6 separate regions of the Homo sapiens genome follow, and all the other regions are linked to region 5. The links are contacts of gene promoters, found by promoter capture Hi-C in blood cells and fetal thymus (Javierre and others, 2016). All regions are on one chromosome and are shown on one strand. Each heading gives the region's core, a stretch centred on a gene start or on the middle of the fragment in contact. The rest is flanking DNA. Distances are from core to core; before and after follow the strand shown.

Region 1 (3,701 bases), core at 104-2,603, 2.4 Mb before region 5:
AATATGGTGAAACCCCGTGTCTACTAAAAATAAAAAATTGGTCGGGCGTGGTGATGGGCACCCGTAATTTCAGCTACTTGGGAGGCTGAGACAGGAGAATTGCTTGAACCCGGGAGGTGGAGGTTGCTGTGAGCTGAGATTGTGCCACTGCACTCCAGCCTGGGTGACAGAGCAAGACTCCCATCTAAAAAAAAAGGGAAATAGGAAAGAGGTGATGAGGAAACAATCTAGAGGAATGACTTTCAAACTTGGTTATGTTCAAACATCAGAAGCAAATTGTTAACTGATTAATAATACAGATTTCATTGATAACATCAGAACTGCTGTGTCAGAAACTCAAGGAGTAGAGCTCCCAGATGATTCACATATTAGATAGTGCCAGACACATTAGCAGTGCAAGAACTTGTATTTGAGAAGCAATGCTCTGAAACAGTTTGTACCCTCTTAGAAACAGGGGAATGCAAGAACTGAAGCTGCCTATAGAAGGTCACCAGGCTCCCTCTTTACTTGTTTCTTTTCTTTTCTTTTCTTTTTCTTTTTTTTTTTTTTTTTTTTTGAGACAGAGTCTTACTCTGTCACCCAGGGTGGAGTGCGGTGGCGCTATCTCAGCTCACTGCAACCTCCACCTCCCTCCTGGTTCAAGTGATTCTCCTGCCTCAGCCTTCCGAGTAGCTGGGACTACAGACATGCACCACTACGCCTGGCTAATTTTTAAATTTTTTAGTAGAGATGGGTTTTTGCCATGATGGCCAGGCTGGTCTCGAACTCCAGACCTCAAGTGATCCTCCCGCCTTGGTCTCCCAGAGTGCTGGGTGAGCCACCCAGGCGTAAGCCACCGTGCCCAACTGGAGGAGCAGATTTTACAGGTGGTGAGAATTGAATTTTGGACATGTTACTTTATTTTATTTTTTATTTTTTATTTTTTTCTTGAGAGGGAGTCTCGCTTTGTTGCCCAGGCTGGAGTGCCGTGGCGCGATCTCTGCTCACTGCAAGCTCCGCCTCCCGGGTTCACGCCATTCTCCTGCCTCAGCCTCCCAAGTAGCTGGGACTACAGGTGCCCGCCACCACGCCCGGCTAATTTTTTTTGTATTTTTAGTAGAGACGGGATTTTACTGTGTTAGCCAGGATGGTCTCGATCTCCTGACCTCGTGATCCGCCCACTTCGGCCTCCCAGAGTGCTGGGATTATAGGCATGAGCCACCGCGCCTGGCCGCTTTATTTTTTTAAAGACAGGATCTTGTTCTGTTTCCCAGGCTGGAGGATACAGTCATAGCTCACTGCAACCTCAAACTCCTGGGCTCAAGGGATCCTCCTGCCTCAGCCTTCTGAGTAGCTGGGACTACAGGTGGGTAGCACCAGGCCCAGTTAATTTTTAAAATTTTCTGTAGATACAGGGTCTTGCTTCATGGCCCACGCTGGTCTCAAACTCCTGGGCTCAAACAGTCCTCTGGCCTTAACCTCTGAAAGTGCCAGGATTATAGATGTGAGCCACCATGCCCAGCCTGAACGTGTTGATTTTCATTTGCCCACTAGATATTCAATTAGAGTTGTTAGTACCCGGCGGTAAGCACACAGCAGTCACTGCTCCATGCAATACTGAAATTCCACCCAGCAAATGTTGTCAGGTCCCTCTTCTCCAGGGGCAGGGAACATTCTGTTATTAGGGCCCAGTTTTGCTTTCTAGGAATGGCTCCCTGACACCTGGTTCACCAAAGCTCTTGGATTGATTCTCTGAAGCACCTTTCTTTTCCATTAGGCTTTGTGGATTCTTAGGAAGAAATGACTCCTGTTGGCAGCTGAGTGCCCTTCTAAGTCTGTATCTTGCCCACAGAAACTTGGGGCCTCAGAAACTTTTTTTTTTGAGACAGGGTCTCACTCTGTCACCCAGGCTGGACTGCAGTGGTGCAATCTTGGCTCACTGCAACCTCCGCCTCCCGGGTTCAAGCAATCCTCATGCCTCAGCCTCCCAAATAGCTGGGATTACTACTTGGCCCACCCCACCCAGCTAATTAGCGTGCCACCACACCCGGCTAATTTTTGTATTTTTGGTAGAGACAGGGTTTCACCATATTGGCCAGGCTGGTCTTGAACTCCTGACCTCAAGCAACCCGCCCATTTCGGCCTCCTAAAGTGCTGGGATTACAGGCGTGAGCCACTGTGCCTGGTCAAAACATGTTCGCTATGTAAAACTTTTGAAACTTTGTGAACTTTCTATGTTGAGTCTGATTTCAGTCTACTCCGCTGGTCAAAAGCTGTATACATCATTTTTTTTTTTCAGACAAACTTCTTTCCAGACTTAATTGAGCTTACTTTGACTGTAACCGGCAGCTAAGAGAAGACATTTTTATGATTCTTACTGGCTCTTTCGTTTAACTGAAAAGATCCATTAGTACCAACTTAACTCTTTTAGATGTCTTAACAAAAGATCTTCCAGCCTCATCTTGAGGATCTTTTACTGGCTGGGGAGGCTGGAGATAAGAACAGGATTTATTTTCCAATCTGCTCAATTTTAATCTCTTGATAGTTCCTCTAAATTCTGTACAGCACCCCTTTCTCCTTATTTCTCTTATTTCTTTCTGGCAGTCCTTACAATATGCAGCTAAAAGACACCAACTAACACATTTAGCATTCTGCCTGGAAATCATTTTATCAAGGCATACAAATTAAGTATGTTTTATATCTTGTGAGTTGTTACAGGTAATAGTTTTACCAAGTATTTTACTGCTATCTAACATGTCATCATTCTTCCAGTTTGCTATAGCAGTTTTCTTAGCACCTTAAGAAAACCCTCAAATTTTAAATTCGTTTTGGAGTAAAACAGGCTCTTTACTATTTACAAGATTATTTCTGAGTTGCAAAAATTCTCTGTCCATGTTTTTCCCTTTATTACCATGTTTTTTCTCCTGTATTTCCCCCACTCAATCTTGGCTGCCACAATCCAACAGAGAGCATGGCACTGCTTTTTTTCTTTTTGCATCTGTAGTGGAAACCTTGGCAGCAGACAGTAAGTGCATCAGGTCTGTCAAACACAAGCATGCTTCTTGCTTTTTCAGTGTTGTCCAGGACTTGGTCCCTAAACCAATGCCACATATTTTAGGCTTTTGTTAAACAGCATCCCATTTCTAGATGGCACTTTCTTTTTTTGTTTGTTTGTTTTTTGTTTGAGACAGAGTCTTGCTCTGTCACCAGGCTGGAGTGCAGTGGCATGATCTCAGCTCATTGCAATCTCCGCCTCCTGGGTTCAAGTGATTCTCTTGCCTCAGCCTCCCGAGTAGCTGGGATTACAGGCGCGCGCCACCACACCCAGCTAATTTTTGTATTTTCAGTAGAGATGGGGTTTCACCATGTTGGCCAGGATGGTCTCCATCTCCTTACCTCGTGATCCTCTCACCTCAGCCTCCCAAAGTGCTGGGATTACAGGCATGAGCCACCGCATCCGGCCATAGATGCCAATTTCTGTATCAGTTAGCTATTGCTGTATAACACACGCCTCTGAAACTCAGTGGCTTAAACAGTAAGCATTTATTCATGTTTGTGTTTCTATGAGTCGGTGGGTAGTCTGCTGACCTGGGGTTGCTCACATATCTGTGGTCATCTGGTGGACTGACTCGAGGCTAATTAGTCTAGGATGGCCTCACTCACATATCTTAGAGTTGGGTAGCAATTGACTGGGGCAACAGGGGTGACTGAGCCATTATCCC
Region 2 (3,974 bases), core at 1,205-3,704, 2.4 Mb after region 5:
TACACTGGCTTTTAGGGGCACTAGGGGCCGCTGGGGAGTGGGAGCTGGGCTAGAGCCTATTTTCTCGTGCCTGGCCTGACCCTGCGGGGTTCTCTCACTGCTTTCACCACTGTTCTCAGGCCATAAATCCCCCACACTTTTTGGAGTGATTTTGCCCACAGTCAAACCTGATCAGCCATATGCTCCTTCCTGCTTAGAAACCTTGCTGCGCCAGGTTCAACCTCTTTCGTGCCGGACGTGAGGCTTCTCCTGATCTGACCTCCACTCAGCTCCCCAGCTTCATTCACTGCCAGCCCTGGGTGACTTCATTGAACCCAGGTTCCCATTTCCCAACGAGCTTAGTTTGCTTCTAATTCTAGGCCTTTGCATTTTCCCCCTCTGAATTTTGTCTCTTTTCCATAGTTCCCTCAGTCTATTCCCATGCCAGGAATCTTGAGTCACATCTATTGTTTTACTATTATTATTATTATATACCTTTTTTTTAAGTAGAGATGGGGTTTCACCATATTGGTCAGGCTGGTCTTGAACTCCTGACTTCAGAGGACCCACCCGCCTCTGCCTCCCAAAGTACCTGGGATTACAGGTGTGAGCCACCATGCCCGGCTTCACTGTCTTTTTTATTATGGTAAAATATTTAAGATAAGATAAAGTTTGTCATTTTAATCATTTTTAAGTATAGAGCTCAATAGCATTAACTATATTCATAATGTTAGGCAACCATCAACACTATTTCCAAAGCTTGTCATCACCCATAAGATAAACTCCGTATCTATTAAAGCAATAATTTCCACTCCCCTCTCCCCTTAGACCCCAGTGAGCTCAAATCTGCTTTCTGTCTCTATGAATTTCCATGTTCTAGATATTTCATATAAATGGAATCGTGCAATATTTGCCCATTTGTGTCTGGCTTCTTTCAGTATAGTATTTTCAAAGTTCATCCGTGTTGTAGCATGTATCAGAATTTCATTTCTTGTTTTTTTTATTGTTGTTGATTTTGGTTTTGGTTTTGAGGACAGTGTCTTGCTCTGTCACCCAGTCTGGAGCGCAGTGGCACTATCTCACTGCAGTCTCCATTTTCCTGGGCTTAAGTGATTCTCCCACCTGAGCCTCCCAAGTAGCTGGGACTACAGGCATGTGCCATCACACCTGGCTGATTTTTGTGTTTTTTGTAGAGACAGGGTTTTGCCATGTTGCCCAGGCTGGTGTTGAAGCCCTGGGCTCCACCAGCAATCCACCCACCTTGGCCTCTCAAAGTACTGGGATTACAGGTGTGAGCCACCATGCCTGGCCTGATCTTCATTTCTTTTTATGGCTGAATAGTACATATATATGGTACTATTGTACAGTGTATATTGTACATATACATTCCTTTTTGTTTATTCATTTGATGAACACTTGGATTGTTCCCACATTTTGGCTATCGTGAATAATGTTGCTATGAACATTAGCTTACACTTCACATATGTTTTCTCCTCCACATAAGATCTTATTTCCACTGTAGACCCTAGTCACGGGCCATCCCCATGAAAAATGAGGAAGGAAGCTGCCCCATCTTCTTTCTGTGTCCTTGCCTTCTCGGAACGGGGTGTTGGTAGCAACAGGTATGACTCATTCATGGTGAAATTTTTGGCATGAGTAGGACAGGGCAATCTTGCAGACACTCCTCAAATCATCCCACAGACACACCACATACTTGGCTTGGCTAAAAAGCAAGTCCTGCCAGGACAAATCCTCTCAAGACTAAGACACTCTTAACAGGAAGTGGGATTCCTGGAGTTGGGTATTAGTAGGCATACTGTGTTTCCTTGATGCAGCCTTTGTGAAAAGGGTTTGAGATTGCAAAAGACGTGACCGTAAGAAGGAAGCAAAGAGGAACATTGAGAATAAGCCTGGAAGTCCGTTTTGTCTTCCCTTCAGTGTCCACAGCTGGTTCCGAGGCAATGCGTTCCAAGGCAGATGAAGAGGAGTCTCCAGGTGCTGTGTCACCAGCTGTTTCCTGGGAACCCTGATGCACTCCTGGTTCACTCTCCACACCCAAATCTATACTCAGCGCACACCTGTTAACTGAATTCACTTAGAGAGGAAAACTCTTAAGCATTCAGGCGGTATCAGCCCTGGGCAAGAATCTTGAAGAGCACACATTTTGGCTTTTTTTTTTTTTTGAGACGGAGTCTCGCTCTGTCGCCCAGGCTGGAGTGCAGTGGCATGATCTCGGCTCACTGCAAGCTCCACCTCCCAGGTTCACGCCATTCTCCTGCCTCAGCCTCCCAAGTAGCTGGGACTGCAGGCGCCCGCCACCACGCCCTGCTAATTTTTTATACTTTTTTAGTAGAGGCGGGGTTTCACCCTGTTAGCCAGGATGGTCTCGATCTCCTGACCTCATGATCCACCCGCCTCAGCCTCCCAAAGTGCTGGGATTACAGGCGTGAGCCACTGTGCCTGGAACGTTTTGGCTTTTATGTCTGACTGCCTCTCTTTTTGTTTGTGGGGCTTCCATCTCCCTCCTTCAGTTACTGACTCTTAATTCCTCACCCCCTCCCCCATTTCCCTCCACCGAAAAGTATTCTTTACCTGTTTATTGAAAGTCTCTTATATACTAATTCAAACTAAAGTATAAATGACTGAAAGTAGCTTACTGTACTGCCCTTTGCAAGAATACTTCATTACATTTTTCACAATAATAATTTCACCAGTGATATCTTTTTTCTTTTTTTAAAAGATAGTCAGCATCTCCCTATATTGCCCAAGTTGGTCTCAAACTCCTGGCCTCAAGTGACCCGCCTGCCACAGCCTCCCAAACTGCCGAGATTACAGGTGTGAGCCACTGTGCCTGGCCTACTGATAGATTTAATGTAATAAAATCCAAGAGCTGGAGAAAGACATACTATGCTAACACCAATCAAAAGAAAGCTGCAGGCCGGACATGGTGGCTAAAGCCTGTAATCCCAGCACTTTGGGAGGCCCAGGCAAGCAGATCACTTGAGGTTAGGAGTTTGAGACCAGCCTGGCCAACATGGTAAAACCTCGTCTCTATTAAAAAAAAAAATACAAAAGTTAGCTTGGCATGGTGGTGCATGCCTGTAATCCCAACTACTTGGGAGGCTGAGGCAGAAGAATTTCTTGAACCCAGGAGGTGGAGGTTGCAGGGAGCTGAGATCAAGCCACTGCACTCCAGCCTGGGTGACAGAGCAAGGCTCCATCTCAAAAAAAGAAAAAAGAAAACTGGAGTAGCTATATTAATTTCAAAGTAGACTTTTGAGAAAGGAAAATTATCAGAGATACAGCAGAACATTACATAACGACAAACGGGTCAATTCTCCAGGAAGACATCAAAATACTCAATATGTATGTGCCTAACAACAGCATCAAAATAGATGAGGCAAAAACTGATAGACCTGCAGAGAAGAAATAGATGAATTCACTATTATTATTGGAGACTTCAACACTCCTCTGTCAGAAGTAGACAGATTCAGCAGGCAGAAAATCAGTAAAGATACAGCTGAATTCAACAGCACCATCAATCAGCTGAATATAATTGACATCTACAGAATACTTTATCCAGCAACAGCAAATTACAAATTCTTCTCAAGCACACATGGAGCACTGACAAAGGTAGACCACATTCTGAATAAAATACATCTTAAGAAACGTAAAAGAAAGGAACTCATTCAAAATATGCTCTCAGACCACAATGGAATTTAACTAGAAATCAATAGCAGAAAAATAGCTGGAAAATTCTCAAATATTTGGAGATTAAACAACATAATTTGGAGGGCGGGGGTGGGAGGAGGGAGAGGATCAGGAAGAACAGCTAATGGATGCTGGGCTTTATACCTGGTGGGAGGAGGGAGAGGATCAGGAAGAACAGCTAATGGATGCTGGGATTATCTTTGCAGCAAACCACCATGGCACACATTTACCTATGTAACAAACATGCATATCCTGCACATGTACCCCACACTTAAAAGTTGGAA
Region 3 (3,681 bases), core at 623-3,122, 2.3 Mb after region 5:
ACAATCCAACGACCACAGTGGTTTCTTACTGTGTAACCTAGCCTGGATGAAAAAAGGGAAACAGAACATCCTCAGCAATTAAAAAGCAAAACGAAGTGTGAAAAACTGGTTGTGCCTTGACCTACTGACTGAAGAGTGAAGATTATGATGCAACCAGAGAACCAGAGTTTGAGCCGCCCTTATTACAGGGCTGTTTGAAAGGGAAAACAATTTATTCTTTGGGCTTAAGAGTAGGTTTCTAAATCCCAAGGTGTTCCACAAATGCCACTAGCAGACAAATCACAAAATACAAAAGGAACTCATCAATAAGTGGTGAGCATTCCTTCCGCTGCTGAATATATAGATATTAACAAGGAAAATGAGGCTATTGATTACTCCAAGTTATCTGTTTACTTGGCAACAAACCTGGGCCCAGAAGTCTCAACTCCCAGGATAAGTCCTCAATTTGAAAATTATGCCATTGCCTTATCTGCTTCCCTTCCCACCAGTTCGCTAATGTCCCACAAATCCAAATCGTATTGTTTTACCAGTCAGTTTAATTATGTGTAAAAATCAGATTCACCACTTAAGAATTTTTTCAAATAACAAACCGGGACCGTGCTACATTAACTAAATCAGAATTCCTAGGTGTGGGGGAAAACTCCTGCAGTTTGACAAAGTTCCCAGGTGATTTTAATGCAGAGCACACAACCCTAACTCCAAAACTATTGGTCTAATGAAGAATTGATAGTAATGGAGATTCAGATTGATGGCAGCTCAATCAACATAGACAGCTAAGGAAGACAAACAGCACTATCCCTTAGCTAACGCAGAAAGTCCGCACTTCAATGCACCACATACCCTTGGAAGATGGGGAGGAGAGGGCTTTTTCATAATTGCTACTGATTTATATTTACAGTGTGCTAGGCACAGTACTCTAGATAACACACTTCACACATACATTTCATCAGCCACATGGGAGTACTGTCATTTCCACTTCACCGATGAAGCAGTGGTGTATCACCAAGGATAGGAAACTTGTTCAAGGCAATACAGCAACCAAGTTACAAATCCAGGTCCGTATGACCTACAGCCCTGTATACTGCTTCTTGCTTATCTACCATTTGTTTACTTAGAGGATTCATTTTGTCTTAATTCATTTTACAATCATTATGTATTACTTTTGTAATTAAAAATATTACCTTGTTGCAATCTTTTTAAAGAACACCTCATTACATTTTTCAATAAATAATGTGACACATCTATTTGGGAAAAAAAATAAAGTCAGATTACTGCATGACAAACCAAATCCAAAAATAAGTTCCAGGTGGATTCAAGAGTTAATTATAATAAATGAACCGTAACAAGAAAAGGAAAATATACATGTAATCTCATCTCAAGTACAGCCACTTTTCCAGGAATCCAAGCAAAAGTAAAATCCAGAAATGTTCAACAGGTTTGACTATATAAGAATCAAATGATTCTATGTATTCAGAAGGAAAAAAAAAAAGCTTAAATTTGATTAAAAATGGGGAAGCCTGCTCAATATGACAGAATTAAAAGAAAGCAATCAACAGTGGTCAACGGACATAAATAAGAAGTTACACAAAAAAAGGGTTCAAGTGATAAACATGTTTATATGTTTAACCTTCCTAGCGATCAAAGAAATACACATTTCAAACAAGATACTGTGATATTTTCCACTAATAAATCATCAAAGTATTGTAAAATTATAATATCTGGTGCTAAGCAGGATCCAGGGTAAACATTCCCACACTTGGCTGCTGGGATTGCAAATTGGCACACCTTTCTGGAGCACAATTTGGCAGTAATAAAAACACTGAAACTGTGTCTATCCTCTTTCCCTGTAATTCTATCCGAGAAATTATTCTTAAAGAATCATGAGTGAGAAAAAAGATTTAACTTCCAAAATGCTCATACTAAAACATTAAAATAGTGATTAAAGTACAGTACAACTCTGAACTATGCTGGCTGCTACAATGTGGCAGGTACTCTTGTGTTAGTAGAAAGGTAAACTGAAAAGTAATTTGCCATTTGTAAGAAAAAAACCTTCAAAATTTTCTTATCTCTGATTCAGCAATTTCACTTTCTAGGAATATATTTTAGGTGAGCAAGATTTGTATGTAAAGATGCAATCACCTCATTATTCTTTATCATCTGTATAAAATATATAAATTAAATGTCCAAGACTAGGAGCAAGGTTAAACAAAGTGTGACTGTCACTGATATGACTATGATACCATTAGGAAGCTTTTCAATGGTTTTAAATAAAATGAAAACATGTTCACAATGTTAGCTGGAAAAATACAGATTCAAAGCCATATATGCAGTATAACATGTTTAAAATGCATATGTATATATTTCTGAATAGAAAAACAAACAGAAGCAAAAACACCAACAGAGGCACTTCTAGATTGTGAAATTATAGGTGATTTCTGCATTCTTCCTATCTTTCTCACTCTCCCTCCTAAAATGAGATGCGTCATTTTCATAAGGGCTGGGTAGCGATGTAGAAACAAGGTTTTCAAATAAGGTCTTCAGATGGATTTTGCTAACTTATTCTCAGAACAGTCAACTTAGTATGCAAGTGCCTAGAATATAAACTAATCTAACGGTTTTCGCTTCTCAAACATACATGATTTTTATTTTATGCTGTGGAGGCATACAATTGATATCGTTAGTGCCCTGGGCCTCCCTGAATGAGATAGAGAAAGTGAAGCAAGTTTGCTAAGCCATACATAAATCAGGTTTTTCCTTTTTTTTTTTTTTTAAGAGACAGGGTCTTACTATAATGTTGCTCAAGCTGGTCTTGAACTCCTGGACTCAAGGTGATCCTCTCACCTCCGCCTCCCAAAGTGCTGGGATTACAGGTGTGAGCCACCGTGCCCAGCCTTAAATCAGCTTATGACTCGGGCATTCTCCTTCACCCTTTGTGGGTGAATTCAGCTTGAGACGCTTTACCATCCCATCATCATTACCATATTTCTGATTCATCAGGTCCCCTAACTTCCCAATTCCTCGTTCTTGACTCATAAGCTCCTTGTCCTTTGTTAACTCGTAAATTAAGGGGTTAGACCGGATGACCTCAAAGATCCTTTTAGACTCTAGGCCCTCACTGACAATTGCCTTGCTCCCAGGAAGCACAAAAACATGTTTTGCTGTGGGGAAAATTTCACCACCCTACCTACTCAAGGCAGCAAGGCCATTCCCAAGACCTCCTTCTCGTTTCACCTCCAAGATTTCAGGCATAAGGCTTTAAGGCCCCCCTTAATTTTCCACAGACTCCATTAATAATTTGGGATCCCATCAACTATTTTCTCCATTCGAAGCCACTGTGCTTTTATATTTTACAGCTCTACTTCAGAAACAAAGGAAGCCGGATGCGGCGGCTCAAGCCTATATCCCAGCACTTTGGGAGGCTGAGGTGGGTGGAAGTTCAAGACCAGCCTGGCCAACTTGGTGAAACCCAGTCTCTACTGAAAATACAAAATTAGCCGGGTGTGGTGGCACACACCTGTAATGCCAGCTACTTGGGAGGTTGAGGCAGGAGAATTACTTGAACCTGGGAGGCGGAAGTTTGCAGTCACCTGAGATCATGCCATTGCACTCTAGCCTGGGCGAAAAGAGCGAGACGCCGTCTCAATAGAAAAATTGAAAAAAAAAAGAAAAAGAAAAGAAGCC
Region 4 (4,145 bases), core at 1,633-4,132, 2.1 Mb after region 5:
GGCTAAGGAAAGCTGCTTTTTGTTGTTGAGAAGGTTTGAATTCCCTCTCCCCCACCCCATCCCTCCCAGGAGGTCTTTTTTCACTCGTTAGTGGGTCTTTTTGTTCAGACAAGAGGTTGACTGTCACAGTCCTTCGCCCATGAACTCTGTGGGCTCTGTTAACCAGGTTTGGACGTCCTGGTTCCCACGTGAGGGTTATAATAGGCTGTTAACAATCCGTTTCCATTCGATTGGCGCTTGAGTATCCTGTCTCCCTACTGTTGTTGAGACTGGCTAGATTTAAGCAGACAGTAAAAAACATCCAGCAGAACGTAATCACTTATTAAATATCCTGTTATATAGACTCCTCACTGCCCTTGGAATTCAGGACGAGGTCAGAGTGTGGAGAAGTTGAGTCTTAAACCCTGCATGGGATTTAGATGGGCAGAGAAGTGTTATATGGTATTCCATTCTAAGACTGTAGGGACTTCATGAGCCAAGGCTGAATGAAGCGTGCTCGGTATACCTGAAGTCTTAACATCACACAGCTCAAGCACCTGGTTCATGGAGGCTCCTCAGACCTTTGATTTGAGCCATTTGACTCATTGTGCACACAAGTCTAACTAGTTTATTCCAACTCGATTCAATTAGTTAATAACATAGTGTAGAAAGGCAGGTGTGAAACACTGTTTCTCAACCTTTTAAAACCCATATTTGTGCAGCCAAGTTATTGTCAAGCTTTACTTGAGGCAGGAGAATCGCTTGAACCCGGGAGGCAGAGGTTGCAGTAAGCCAAGATCGCGCCACTGCACTCCAGCCTTGCAACAGCGCGAGACTCTGTCTCAAAAAAAAAAAAAGTTTATTTTTTACCATTTATATAATTATCTGAACATGCTTTGCCAAACCACACAACACACCTACCCTCATCTTGATAATCATTGTGCTACAGGCATATATTCTGCAAAGCCAGCTGTTTTCTGCGAAGTCAGAGAAAGTATTAAAAGTGGATTCAATTCCGAAATTGTCCCCGTATAAATCTGTTTATATAAGGGGAAGGATGCGGGTCACTAAACCTTGAGAATAGCAACTTACCCCTGGGTCAGTGTGTTACACATTTAATAATGCAGAATTAAAAGTCATAGCCGTTGCCCTACAGAAGCATGCAACCTAAGAAGAAGATAGAAAAGTAAACCAAAGTTATTATTTATTTATTTAGAGACAGGGTCTGGCTTTGTGGGGCCCAGACTGAAGTGCAGTGGCGCGTTCTCAGCTCGCTGCTACCTCCACCTTTCGGACTCAAGCGATCCTCTCGCCGCGTCAGTCTCCCCATATAGCTGGGAATACAGGCGCGCACCACTGCACCCTGCTTATTTTTTTTGTAGAAATGGGGTTTAACCATGTTGCCCAGGCTGGTCTCAAACTCCTGGGTTCAAGGTATCTGCCCACCTCAACCTTCCAAAGTGCTGGAATTACAGGCATGAGCCACCATGCCTGGTCCGAAATTATAATTCACTGTGTTCATGGTGAAATAGAGGCGTGTTCAGGGTTTTGGGAATTCAGAGAACAGAGGATTGGGGAGGTCAGGGGACAGCTTCCTGGAAACGTGACTCTTGAACTGATAAGGATAAGTAAGCCAGGGCCTTCCATGAAAGAGGTCAGCTTATAGGAGCATAAGAGCTTGGTACCTTATTGGCTAAAGCATGGACCCTGTGTTCTCAATAAAGAGCAAATTATATTTAATGTGTTCAGTTTAAGAAGGCAGGGAAGTGTGAAATAGTTTTTCCCATAACAACTCATTAGTGAGGGTATCAAAAAGCCAGGGTTTACTTTACATATATTTTAGTTTGCTCATAAAATCCTCCTGCTTAATTTATTTAGAAATATGAAACCGGGGATTGTAAAAAAGTGGAAAATTATTTTTTCCATTAAGAACCAAAGATGTCTCAGAGGAAAAGGAAGTATTCTATTGATACTCATACTCCCTCTTTACTTTGCAACTATGTATTACATACTAAAATTTATTTGGTAGTTGATAGATAAATGTAATTGAGAATTCCCATCAACATACCAAAAGCATTGTTGCTCAGTAAGTTAGATGGGTGTGTCATGCCTCCCAAATGGTTGGAATAAGTCCTCCCATGGCCTAAAAGTTTTAATTTTGTGTACTGCTTCAGAAATATGTAATAGGCTGTGTTTTAAATTTATAATTATGAAACAAAAACACATTTTGTTTAGCATTTTCTCATTTTTGAGATTCACTTTCCAGAGTACCCTTCCCACACACAATCTATGACCACCTCTTATTGATTCTGCTTCCTAAATGCAGCTTTCTTAAATAGGTTCTATTTCTCTCCAGTCCAACTAGAATACTGTCTTTGTAATCGGAATTCAACAAGACCCCTTATCTGGTCTCTCTGCATTCAGTCTTAACCCTCTCAAATTCATTCTTTCCTCTGCATCCGGAAGTTGTTTTAATTGCAGAGTTCCATGAAACCCTCTCAGTATCTTCCTTTGCCCTTAGGATAACCTCCTACACTTAACTTGGTTGAATATGTTCCATTGCCTGCCTCACTCTTTTTTGCCTGGCTAATTTCTTCATATATTTCAGATCTCTGTCTAAATAACACTTCTTCAGGGCCTCGTTGAATTAAGTACCCCTGTTATATATTTGATGGCATACTTCCTATTTGTAGCACTTGTAATTATTGGCGTGTGTCTGTCCTCCCCCATGTAGATTCTGTGTAAATAATTGGTAAATAATTTCTGAAGGTTTATCAAGGTCTATGGATACCCTTGAGAAAAGATTAAAGAGTGAAATTAAAGAGATTACAATAAGCAGTAACCATTGAAGTAAAAAAGGAATGATAGCTACCTTTTATAAAGCAATTATTGTGTGCCAGGCAATGTGCTAAGTATTTGCTATGTAGTTTCCCATTTAATCCTTTGATCCAGGTGACAGTATTCCCATTTTACAGACAAAAAATGTGAGCTTCAGGGAGGTGAAGTAAGTGGCTTAAAGTTAGCATGGATTAAAAATGATAGAGCCAAGATCGAAACCCAGGTTTCCCTGTTATTTAGTGAGGGTAGGAACTCTAGCACCCTGCACCATGCCTAGGTTATCTCTTAAAAAAAAAGAAGGTAGAGTGCATACAGAAAATATATTCAAGGCTATTTTTAAAAATTAGCTTTAAATGCAAGTGTGGTTCAATTAAGATCTTCAGGCCAGGTGCAGTGGTTCATGACTGTAATCCCAGCACTTTGGGAGGCGGAGGCAGGCAGATGGCTTGAGATCAGGAGTTCTAGACCAGCCTGAGCAACATGGCAAAACCTGTCTTTACAAAAGATACAAAAACTAGCTGAGCGTCGTGGCATGTGCCTGTAGTCCCAGCTACTTGAGGGGCTGAGGCAGGAGGATCACTTGCGCCTAGAAGGTTGAGGCTGGAGTGAGCTGTGATGGCACCACTGCATTACAACCTGGGTGACAAAATGAGACCCTATCTCAAAAACAAAAAACAAAAAAAAGTTTTTAAGGTTATTGGTTAAAAAAAAATTTTTTTTAAGTTTGAGGACTTTCTTGATGAGCTAAAGGCCCCCATATCAGAGCATACTAATTTGGTGCTGAAGTTAGTATTTTTTATCTTCCAAATTTAGCTCCTGTGATACCATTTATAATTCTCTAACTTTGCACATCACCCTCTTGGTGGCTTTTCACACACCCACATGAAAACAATGGATGCCATTATAACGTAATACTTGGGTATCTCCTTCTTAGATACCAACTCAGAGGATTTCAGTGGCTTTCCGTATTTATAATATGCAATATTCAGGCAGCTTTATTTAACTGAAGAAAACTCATTGGCATTTTCAGTTAACCAGAATCATTTTAGAAAGCAGAGGAAAATTAGAAATATATCTTTTAAATTAGCACATTTTAGAGCATGTTCTGTTATTTGTATAGATTGAGCCTAACTGAGTACGCTGATGGCCAGTTCAGCTAAGGATAGAAACTGGAATTCACAAAGGTCCTTACCGAAAGAACATGGAACAAAAAATTCTGAGCACGTTGACAGAAATTAAGTTTGAAACATCATGGCCAGGAACCCAGTCATTTAAATAGATGAAGAGTCAAGCGAATAAAATAATCCAAAGCAGTTCAAGAATGCAGC
Region 5 (4,176 bases), core at 939-3,438:
ATTCTGGCCCCTTTCCCTTTCTGGCCTGACCTCTGACCTCCTCTCCGCTCTGCTCCAGCTCACTAGGCCTCTTAAGTTGCTCTCTGAACATAAAGAGGCAGGTTCCCCCAGGGCCTTTGTACTTTCTTCTCCTCCAGAGAACGTCAAGGTAAGTTCTCTCACTTCCTTGAGCTCTGGACTCAAAAATTCCCTTCTCAGCGAGGACGTCCCTGACCACTTATTGTAAAACTGCAGCTCCCTACAGCCCCCCACCCACAACACACACACACACTCTTCATCCCCCTTTCCTTTTTAATCTCTATTTTCACCTTCTGTCATCCTATAATTTTACTTTTTGCCTGTCTCTTTCCACTAAAATGTAAGCTCCAAAAGGAGAGAGATGTTTGTCTGTTTTGTTCATTGTTGGTATCTCTAGTGCCTAGAGCAGTCCTTAATAAACATTTGTTGGATTAATAAAGGGAGACCACTGTGGGGGAAAAAAAATAAAAGAAAATAAAATTTTAGCTGAAGAATGCAAGCCCCTTTAAATTATCAGGCCCAGAGAGGCATTAGAATGAAAAAACAGTCCCGTCTCACTCCCGGTCTGAGCTGGATAATTATCTCTTAAAGCCCACCTGCTATATGGGCTCTAGACTGGAACCAAGAAGCCATAAAATGCCATATGCTGGACACGATAACTCATACCCTATGAGTTACAGTGTACAGCCAATCACTAAGCAATGGTATCTCTGTAAACCAATAACAATTCCTGACCAACTTTGTCTCAGCCCACTCTTCCCCTTCGCCTTTAAAAACCTGCTTGTAACCAAGGCTGAAGGAGCACTCCCCAAGGCAACTGGGAAATGAGTCCTGGGCAGCTGTCCTCATTTTGGCTGAAGTAAACACTTTAAATTATAATTTTGTGCCCCAGCCTCTTCCTTTTAGGTAGACACCACTATTCAATGACATCAAGATCTGAACTGTCCTACTTATCCCAATATCCCACCCCTAAAAAGAAATGTACCGAACCATAAAAAGCCTGAAGTACTCCGACTTACAGACTCCTGTATTAGCATCCTAAGAATTATATTACCCTCTTCAATAGGGAGTAGTATTTTTCATATCAAACCTAGCCTGAGAACAACTGAGATTCAACTAGGAAAAAAAGAAAAGAAAATCCATTAAAGACTGAGTGATTTGAACTCAAAAATATCCATCATCACTTGCTAAATCATAGACAGCAGGTTATTTCCCTCGACTTTGCTGTGCAGACCTGTAGTGGCTCAATTTCTGCCATAATAAAGGCCGTACTAGAAAGAGCAATCCTAACTAAGCGCGCAAGGTAAACATCAAGCTGGGGCCGTCAGGGGCGGGGAAACACTTTCTGAATGGCGGAAGCTCCGAGAGACGCCTTTCCCAGCTGCTCCAGAGGGGAAAGGAAAAGGGAGAAAGTCTGTTTTTCCAGAATCTCCCAAACACAGCCCAGGGGCCTGCTCCGCGGGCCTAAGCGCCTCCACGTGTCTCAGAAGCCTAGCACTATAGATACCCCGGGGCACGGAGCTGGGAAAACGGGAATAGGAAGACACTTTACCCCGAGAAGATCCAGTCCAACAGGTCTTCTTCAGCCGGATGACTGTGGAGCGCCACCACAAGCAGGGCCTGCAACCCAGGCATCCAGGCTAGACACCAAATCAGCAAACTTTATTCCCGCGCTGCCGAGTACAAGCCGGCGCCTCCCCGGCGCACACAGTACACATCAGCTCCGGGAGACCTACCCGACCCGCCCCTCCAGCGCCGTCCCCGCCCCCGTTCCTGCCCCACCCCTTTCCCCGCCCCCGGCCCGGCTCGCCTTTCTCGCGGCGCTGCAACCCTCCCACCACAGCCCATCCAGCCCCGCCCAGCGCGCCGCGGTGCGCATGCGTGGAGGCCCTCGCTGCCGCTGAGCACCTCGGGAAGTGTAGTCTCTTCGCAGGTGCGGCTGGGCAGCTAGAGTCCTGCATCCCGGTGGAATCCGGAGAAGTGAGAACATTCCCGCCGCCCGGTCCTCATTCCCATCTTCCCACCTGTCCAGTCCCCTCGCACTCCCGCTGCACCCCACGCGCCGGGCTTCAGTCAGAGAGTGCACTGAGGAAGAGCGGAGACCCCCTCTTCCCCTCAGCAGGCTGTGCCGGGGGAGGCGGGGTCCACCGCCCGCCCCCCGCCGTCGCTCTCCCCGCCTCCCCTTCCCTCCCCTCCTGGCGGGTGCGGGGCCGGTGTCCGAAGTCAGGCGGCGGCCCCCGCAGCGGCCGCAGGAGGGGCGGCTGCGGTGGGCGCCGCGGGCGATGCCCCTGCCCGGCTGCTCCGGCGGGGGGCAGTGCGAGCGGCGGCGGCGGGGGAGGAGGCGGGGGGCGGCGGCTGCGGCGGCTGCAGCAGAGGGGCCGAGAGCTGGCGGTGGCGGCGGCGGTGGTCGTGAAGGGCATCGGCGGCGGCGGTGATGGCAGAGATGATGTGAGTGCCCGCCGGCTGGAGACCTGGGGCCGCGGAGCGCGGGACGGGCGGCGGCGGCGTGCGGGAGCGGCCCCGGGGGCGGCGGAGGGATGCGGGGAGCGCGGGCAGAGCCGGAGCGGCGGCCGCCAACCGGCCGGCAGTGGCTGGAGCCCCGCGCTGCGGCGCCGGGGGAGCCGGGCCCGGCGTGGGGGTCGCGGGCGGCGGCGGGGCGGTCAGGCCGAGGGGCGTCTGCGATTGTTCTCAACACCCCTCCCCCACCCCATCCCGTGTGTCTGTTTGTTACTTGCAGCTGAAGATGGAAAGAGCCAGGCGAAGGGGAGGCGGCGGCGGCCGCGGCCGCGGAGGCAAGAATGTAGGGGGCTCTGGCCTAAGCAAGAGTAGACTCTATCCCCAGGCCCAGCACTCCCACTACCCCCACTACGCGGCCTCAGCCACCCCTAATCAGGCCGGGGGCGCAGCCGAAATCCAGGAGCTGGCCTCCAAACGAGTGGACATCCAGAAAAAGAGGTTTTACCTAGACGTGAAGCAAAGCTCCCGGGGCCGCTTCCTAAAGATAGCCGAAGTCTGGATAGGGAGAGGCCGGCAGGACAACATCAGAAAGAGTAAACTGACCCTCTCCCTGTCTGTGGCAGCGGAGCTGAAGGACTGTCTAGGGGACTTCATCGAGCACTATGCCCACCTGGGCCTGAAAGGCCACCGGCAAGAGCATGGCCACAGCAAAGAGCAAGGCTCCAGAAGGAGGCAGAAGCACTCGGCACCCTCCCCACCAGTCTCGGTGGGGTCCGAAGAGCATCCTCACAGTGTCCTGAAAACAGACTATATCGAGAGGGACAATAGGAAATATTACCTAGACCTAAAGGAAAATCAGCGGGGTCGCTTCCTACGGATTAGACAAACCATGATGCGGGGGACTGGCATGATAGGTTATTTTGGCCACAGTTTGGGCCAAGAACAGACTATTGTCCTCCCAGCACAAGGAATGATTGAGTTTCGTGATGCCTTGGTTCAGCTGATTGAAGACTATGGCGAAGGAGACATAGAAGAACGAAGAGGTGGAGACGATGACCCGCTTGAACTCCCAGAGGGGACTTCTTTCAGAGTGGACAATAAAAGGTTCTACTTTGATGTGGGCTCTAATAAATATGGAATTTTCCTGAAGGTAAGTGAGGTGAGACCACCTTACCGTAATACTATTACTGTTCCATTCAAAGCTTGGACAAGGTTTGGGGAGAATTTTATCAAGTATGAAGAAGAGATGAGGAAAATTTGCAACAGCCATAAAGAAAAGAGAATGGATGGCAGAAAGGCCAGTGGTGAAGAACAAGAATGCCTCGACTAGAGTGAAATTGAACTCCATCAGGCAAAATTTAAAATCACAAATTGGCTAAAAGTACTGATCCATTATCCTTTGAAGAAGTTTTTCCTCTTTTTTGGCCCGTTGTTATTAGTAATACCTCTAGTAGTTGATACTTCAGGAAGTCTGATTCTCATGTTATGTTACACATAGATCACTATAATTCTTACGGGAATTCCAACCTTCCCAGAGCTAAATAGTTTAGCTGCTTCAACTGCTCCAGACTATTGAAGTATGCAAATCAGCACAAAATGTGACATTCTGACATTCTAAATACCATAACTAAGATTTACATTGCACTATGACATAATCCCGAAAAAAGATACATATACTTAAATAGAAGTGTGACTTTCCCC
Region 6 (3,689 bases), core at 373-2,872, 2.9 Mb after region 5:
TAATCAGGGGTATAACCAACAAAAAAAGAAAGAAAAACTTCTAAAGACACGGTAGAAAAATCAGTAAAATACAATAACTTTATAGTCAAAAGAGGATATTTACTTATTCCTGTAGCAAATATTTACTAAGCATGAGGATTCAAGGAAGGGGTAAAATATTGCAGCATCTCAAGTATCAGAGAAGAGAGTCTAAGAAAAGGTCATTCCTGTATGTGATGATTAGACGACCTGGGGTTGGGGAGAGAACCCTTTCATTAGGGAAGATCTACATAGAGTGAATATATATTATAGTTTGAAAAAAAAAATAGATGCAGAGATGAAAGACAACTCTTATTTGAGACTGTAGGAAAGTCCAAGCTGAAAATGATTATGGAGAGGAAGTGGATGAATGTGTCAAAGAGGTTCTACAGCAGGGGAGGGTTGGATTAGATCAGGGGCCCCAAAGGGAGGGTTTTCCTGACAGAAAGCTGCTGCTTCAGCTGAGACAGTAGGGAAGGAAAGTAGGATGTGCAGCGATGCAGCACAGAAGAACATGGGCTCTGGAGACGGCTGACCTAATTCCAAATCCCAGCTCTGCCAATTACTAGTTACTTACCCCTGGACAAATTATTTAACTGCTCTCTGACTCAGATTACCCACCTGTCAAGTGTGGCTGGTATCAGTACCTATCTCACAGAATTTTGAGGGGATTAACTGAGCTAATACATACAATGCATTAGCAACAGTGTCTGGAATACAGTAAGTGCCCAATAAATGTTAGAAGCTATTAGTATTCTTAAGCTGAGACAATTTTGCCATCAAGAAATGAATGACGGCCGGGTGCGGTGACTCACGCCTGTAATCCCAGCACTTTGGGAGGCCGAGGTGGGCAGATCACGAGGTCAGGAGATCGAGACCGTCCTGGCTAACACGGTGAAACCCCGTCTCTACTAAAAATACAAAAAATTAGCCAGGCGTGGTGGCGGGCGCCTGTAGTCCCAGCTACTCAGGAGGCTGAGGCAGGAGAATGGCGTTAACCCCAGAGGCGGAACTTGCAAAAAAAAAAAAAGAAATGAATGACAAGGCAAGGCAGAAAGCTAAAATTCTCAACTAAAATAAAACTTGAGCTGGAAAACAAGTAGTACTAGATAATTTCATAAAAGAGATCTGCTACCTAAGAACAAGCTTGCTCTCTCTTTATATCCACTTACTTATTTAGATCGATGTCTTTCCCCTGCTCGTGGGCTTCAATCAGTTGTTTAATAACATCTCCTATAGTCAGCATCATCAGCTCAGCAGGGCTGAGATCTCCTGGAAAGTTAATATTCAACAATGTCAAAAATCGTATCATTCAATCAAGATTTTAAAATCTGATTTAGTAGCAGTTTTCCATCCGAAACCATACAAATATGCCAAATGAATAGCTCAAGTTCAGAAGATGCTAAATCTCTACTGTTTACAATTTGATCATATCTTTTGTATCTTTAAAACAAACGTGGCTTTACATATATATGGGAAAAGCTCCCTTTAGAAGCACATACTCTATGAGATTATTAAAAATAAATACAGGAAAGGATACAGGAGTAGAAACAATGTGAGGAGAAAGAACTTAATCACACAGGAAAGGACCAAAGTAATTCTCTTCCCTTTATCTCCAGAGGTGTAATTACTAATATGTGCATAATACTTTAGAGTTCATAAAGAACATTTAGATGCATGAATTCAGGTAATTCTCAGAACAGAGGTAGACAGAACAAGAATATGTGCCTGTTACATGAAGATGCTATCAAGGAGTAAAGTTGAAACTCAAACCCAGGTATCTGCCTAAGAATCTTAATGCATTTCTAAAATATTGTCTGTCCACCATCATGAACTTCTGGCAACTGGGGCTCTCGGTCTCATCCAAAGGCAACAGCAGAAGCTGACAGGTTCTTGTATGACGCCATCCACTCAAGCACAGTTCAAGGATTGGTTCAAGGATGGGCATATCTCTAAGCCAGGCCAATCTGAGCTCTTTTCTTCAAGGTAAAAAATGCCAGTCTTTTTCCAGGGACAAAAGCTGTGGGATATCAGCTTGGAAGCTGTCAGCAAGCAAGCTTCTCACCTGTAGAGCAGTGGTTCCCAACCTTTTTGATAAAAGGAACTGGTTTTATGGAAGATGATTTTTCCACAGACCAGGGGAGCAGGGTGGTTTTAGGATGATTCAAGTGCATTACATTTATTGTGCACTTTATTTTTATTACTGCATTGTTATATGTAATGAAATAATTATACAATTCACCATAACGAATTCTGTTCCCATAGAATCAGTGGGAACCCTGAGCTTGTTTTCCTGCAACTAGACACTCCCATCTGGGGGTGATGGGAGACAGTGACAGATCATCAGGCATTAGATTCTCATAAGGAGCACACAACCTAGACCCACCACATGCACGGTTCACAACAGGGTTCAGACTCCTTTGAGAATCTAATGCCACTGCTGATGTGACAGGAGGCAGAGCTTAGGCAGTAACATGAGTGATGGGAAGTGGCTGCAAATACTGATGAAGCTTCACTTGCTCGCCTGCTGCTCACCTTCTTCTGTCTGGCTCAGCTCCTAACAGGCCATGAACCGGTACTGGTCCGTGGCCCAGGGGGCTGAGGACTCACACTGCAGAGAAAGCTAAAACATAATGAAAGCGTGGATGGAAGGCCCTGGCAATTATGGAGCCCACACATTTACTTTATCTCATTTGAACCCTTACAGTAACACGGAGGGTAGGTACTGTTATCCCATTTTATAGATGTGAAAAATGAGGCTAAGGCAAGTTAACAAGCTATCGTAAACAGCAGAGCCAAGACTCAAATCCAGCTCTTTTCACCACAACTTCCATGCTTTTTTCACTGTAACACACTGCATCTAATTTAATGAGGCAAGGCTAACATATACACAACAATTTTTGAGAGAAATAAAGTCCATCTATACTCAAAGGCTAAATGCTTTCCAAACCATGTAACTCAGCACTTCCAGAGTTCTACAAAGGTGCCTCAGGGGCCATGCAACAGAGGTAGGACTGGTGGTGGTCATGGCAGAGGAAGGGAGAAGGGAAGAGGAAAATAAGGCATGGAGGAAAAAAAGGAGGAGGTCTCTTTATTTCCACCACAGCAGCTCTGCTTTCAGCTGTTTATATATTGAGGTTCTGTGTAAGAATTTATTTGGAGGGTAAAAGGGGATCGGCTGATAAGAACAGATAAGATTTGGAAACCACTTGTATAGCTCTTGAGTGTATCAAGAACTGGAAGAGTAAATGAGTAGGAAAAGACTTCATGAAGGAAATGGCACAGGGATCTTTAAAGATAGGGCAAGATTTGGACATGCAAAACAGAAGGCAATCCAGAAGAAATAATGTCAGGCATAGGAATTACCTATCTTTGTGTGAAACAGCACAGCCTAACTAAAATCCAGCTTTCTAACAGGGTGTAATAAAGAACAGATTACAGGGGACCCTGGCCACTAGGCAAAGGCATTGAAATGGAATGCAACAGACAGTGAAGAATTGCATATTCTCAACTTTGGAAATAAAAAGTTGAAAGTAACGTTTAAGGAAGGTAAGAATATTATCGGTACAAAGAATGATTCAGAAAGTGAAAAAGAATACATATAATATGGATACTACTCAAATGGCTCTTGAAAGGCAACATTGTTTTAAAAAACCCACAAAATCTAAGAC

The links. The method cuts DNA at HindIII sites, captures the fragments that hold promoters and counts their contacts. A CHiCAGO score of 5 or more calls a contact.
Region 1: a fragment that was not itself captured here is called in contact with the fragment with the promoter of PURG in region 5 in 5 of 17 cell types (naive CD8 T cells, total CD4 T cells, non-activated CD4 T cells and 2 more); the score reaches 9.5 in naive CD8 T cells.
Region 2: a fragment that was not itself captured here is called in contact with the fragment with the promoter of PURG in region 5 in 1 of 17 cell types (activated CD4 T cells); the score reaches 5.8 in activated CD4 T cells.
Region 3: a fragment that was not itself captured here is called in contact with the fragment with the promoter of PURG in region 5 in 1 of 17 cell types (total CD8 T cells); the score reaches 5.0 in total CD8 T cells.
Region 4: a contact is called between a fragment that was not itself captured here and the fragment with the promoter of PURG in region 5, in 1 of 17 cell types (total CD4 T cells). The highest score is 5.3, in total CD4 T cells.
Region 6: a contact is called between a fragment that was not itself captured here and the fragment with the promoter of PURG in region 5, in 1 of 17 cell types (activated CD4 T cells). The highest score is 6.2, in activated CD4 T cells.

What each region holds. Positions count from the first base shown.
Region 1 is chr8:33,476,270-33,479,970 of GRCh38, reverse strand. No RefSeq gene overlaps it. Among named protein-coding and RNA genes, the nearest start is that of POFUT3, 5.0 kb to the right of the region's middle. The HindIII fragment of the contact is 9,428 bases long and covers 1-3,701 here.
Region 2 is chr8:28,614,815-28,618,788 of GRCh38, reverse strand. It overlaps a transcript of EXTL3 not described here. Among named protein-coding and RNA genes, the nearest start is that of EXTL3-AS1, 85 kb to the left of the region's middle. The HindIII fragment of the contact is 3,428 bases long and covers 741-3,974 here.
Region 3 is chr8:28,704,647-28,708,327 of GRCh38, reverse strand. The region is part of intron 1 of EXTL3 (exostosin like glycosyltransferase 3); the gene reads right to left. Among named protein-coding and RNA genes, the nearest start is that of EXTL3, 5.0 kb to the right of the region's middle. The HindIII fragment of the contact is 760 bases long and covers 1,493-2,252 here.
Region 4 is chr8:28,885,601-28,889,745 of GRCh38, reverse strand. The region is part of intron 1 of INTS9 (integrator complex subunit 9); the gene reads left to right. Among named protein-coding and RNA genes, the nearest start is that of INTS9, 2.3 kb to the left of the region's middle. The HindIII fragment of the contact is 4,325 bases long and covers 720-4,145 here.
Region 5 is chr8:31,031,368-31,035,543 of GRCh38, reverse strand. It overlaps PURG (purine rich element binding protein G), which reads left to right and starts at 2,188. Exons shown (of 2, transcript NM_001323311.2): 1 at 2,188-2,466; 2 at 2,756-4,176. The coding sequence starts at 2,762. The coding sequence ends at 3,805. WRN (WRN RecQ like helicase) reads right to left here and starts at 1,734. Exons shown (of 35, transcript NM_000553.6): 1 at 1,571-1,734. RefSeq lists enhancers at 577-626, 1,460-1,981 and silencers at 697-766, 1,737-1,996, 2,157-2,206. The HindIII fragment of the contact is 5,494 bases long and covers 1-3,679 here.
Region 6 is chr8:28,094,820-28,098,508 of GRCh38, reverse strand. It overlaps ELP3 (elongator acetyltransferase complex subunit 3), which reads right to left. Exons shown (of 15, transcript NM_018091.6): 2 at 1,191-1,290. Among named protein-coding and RNA genes, the nearest start is that of ELP3, 3.5 kb to the right of the region's middle. The HindIII fragment of the contact is 911 bases long and covers 1,167-2,077 here.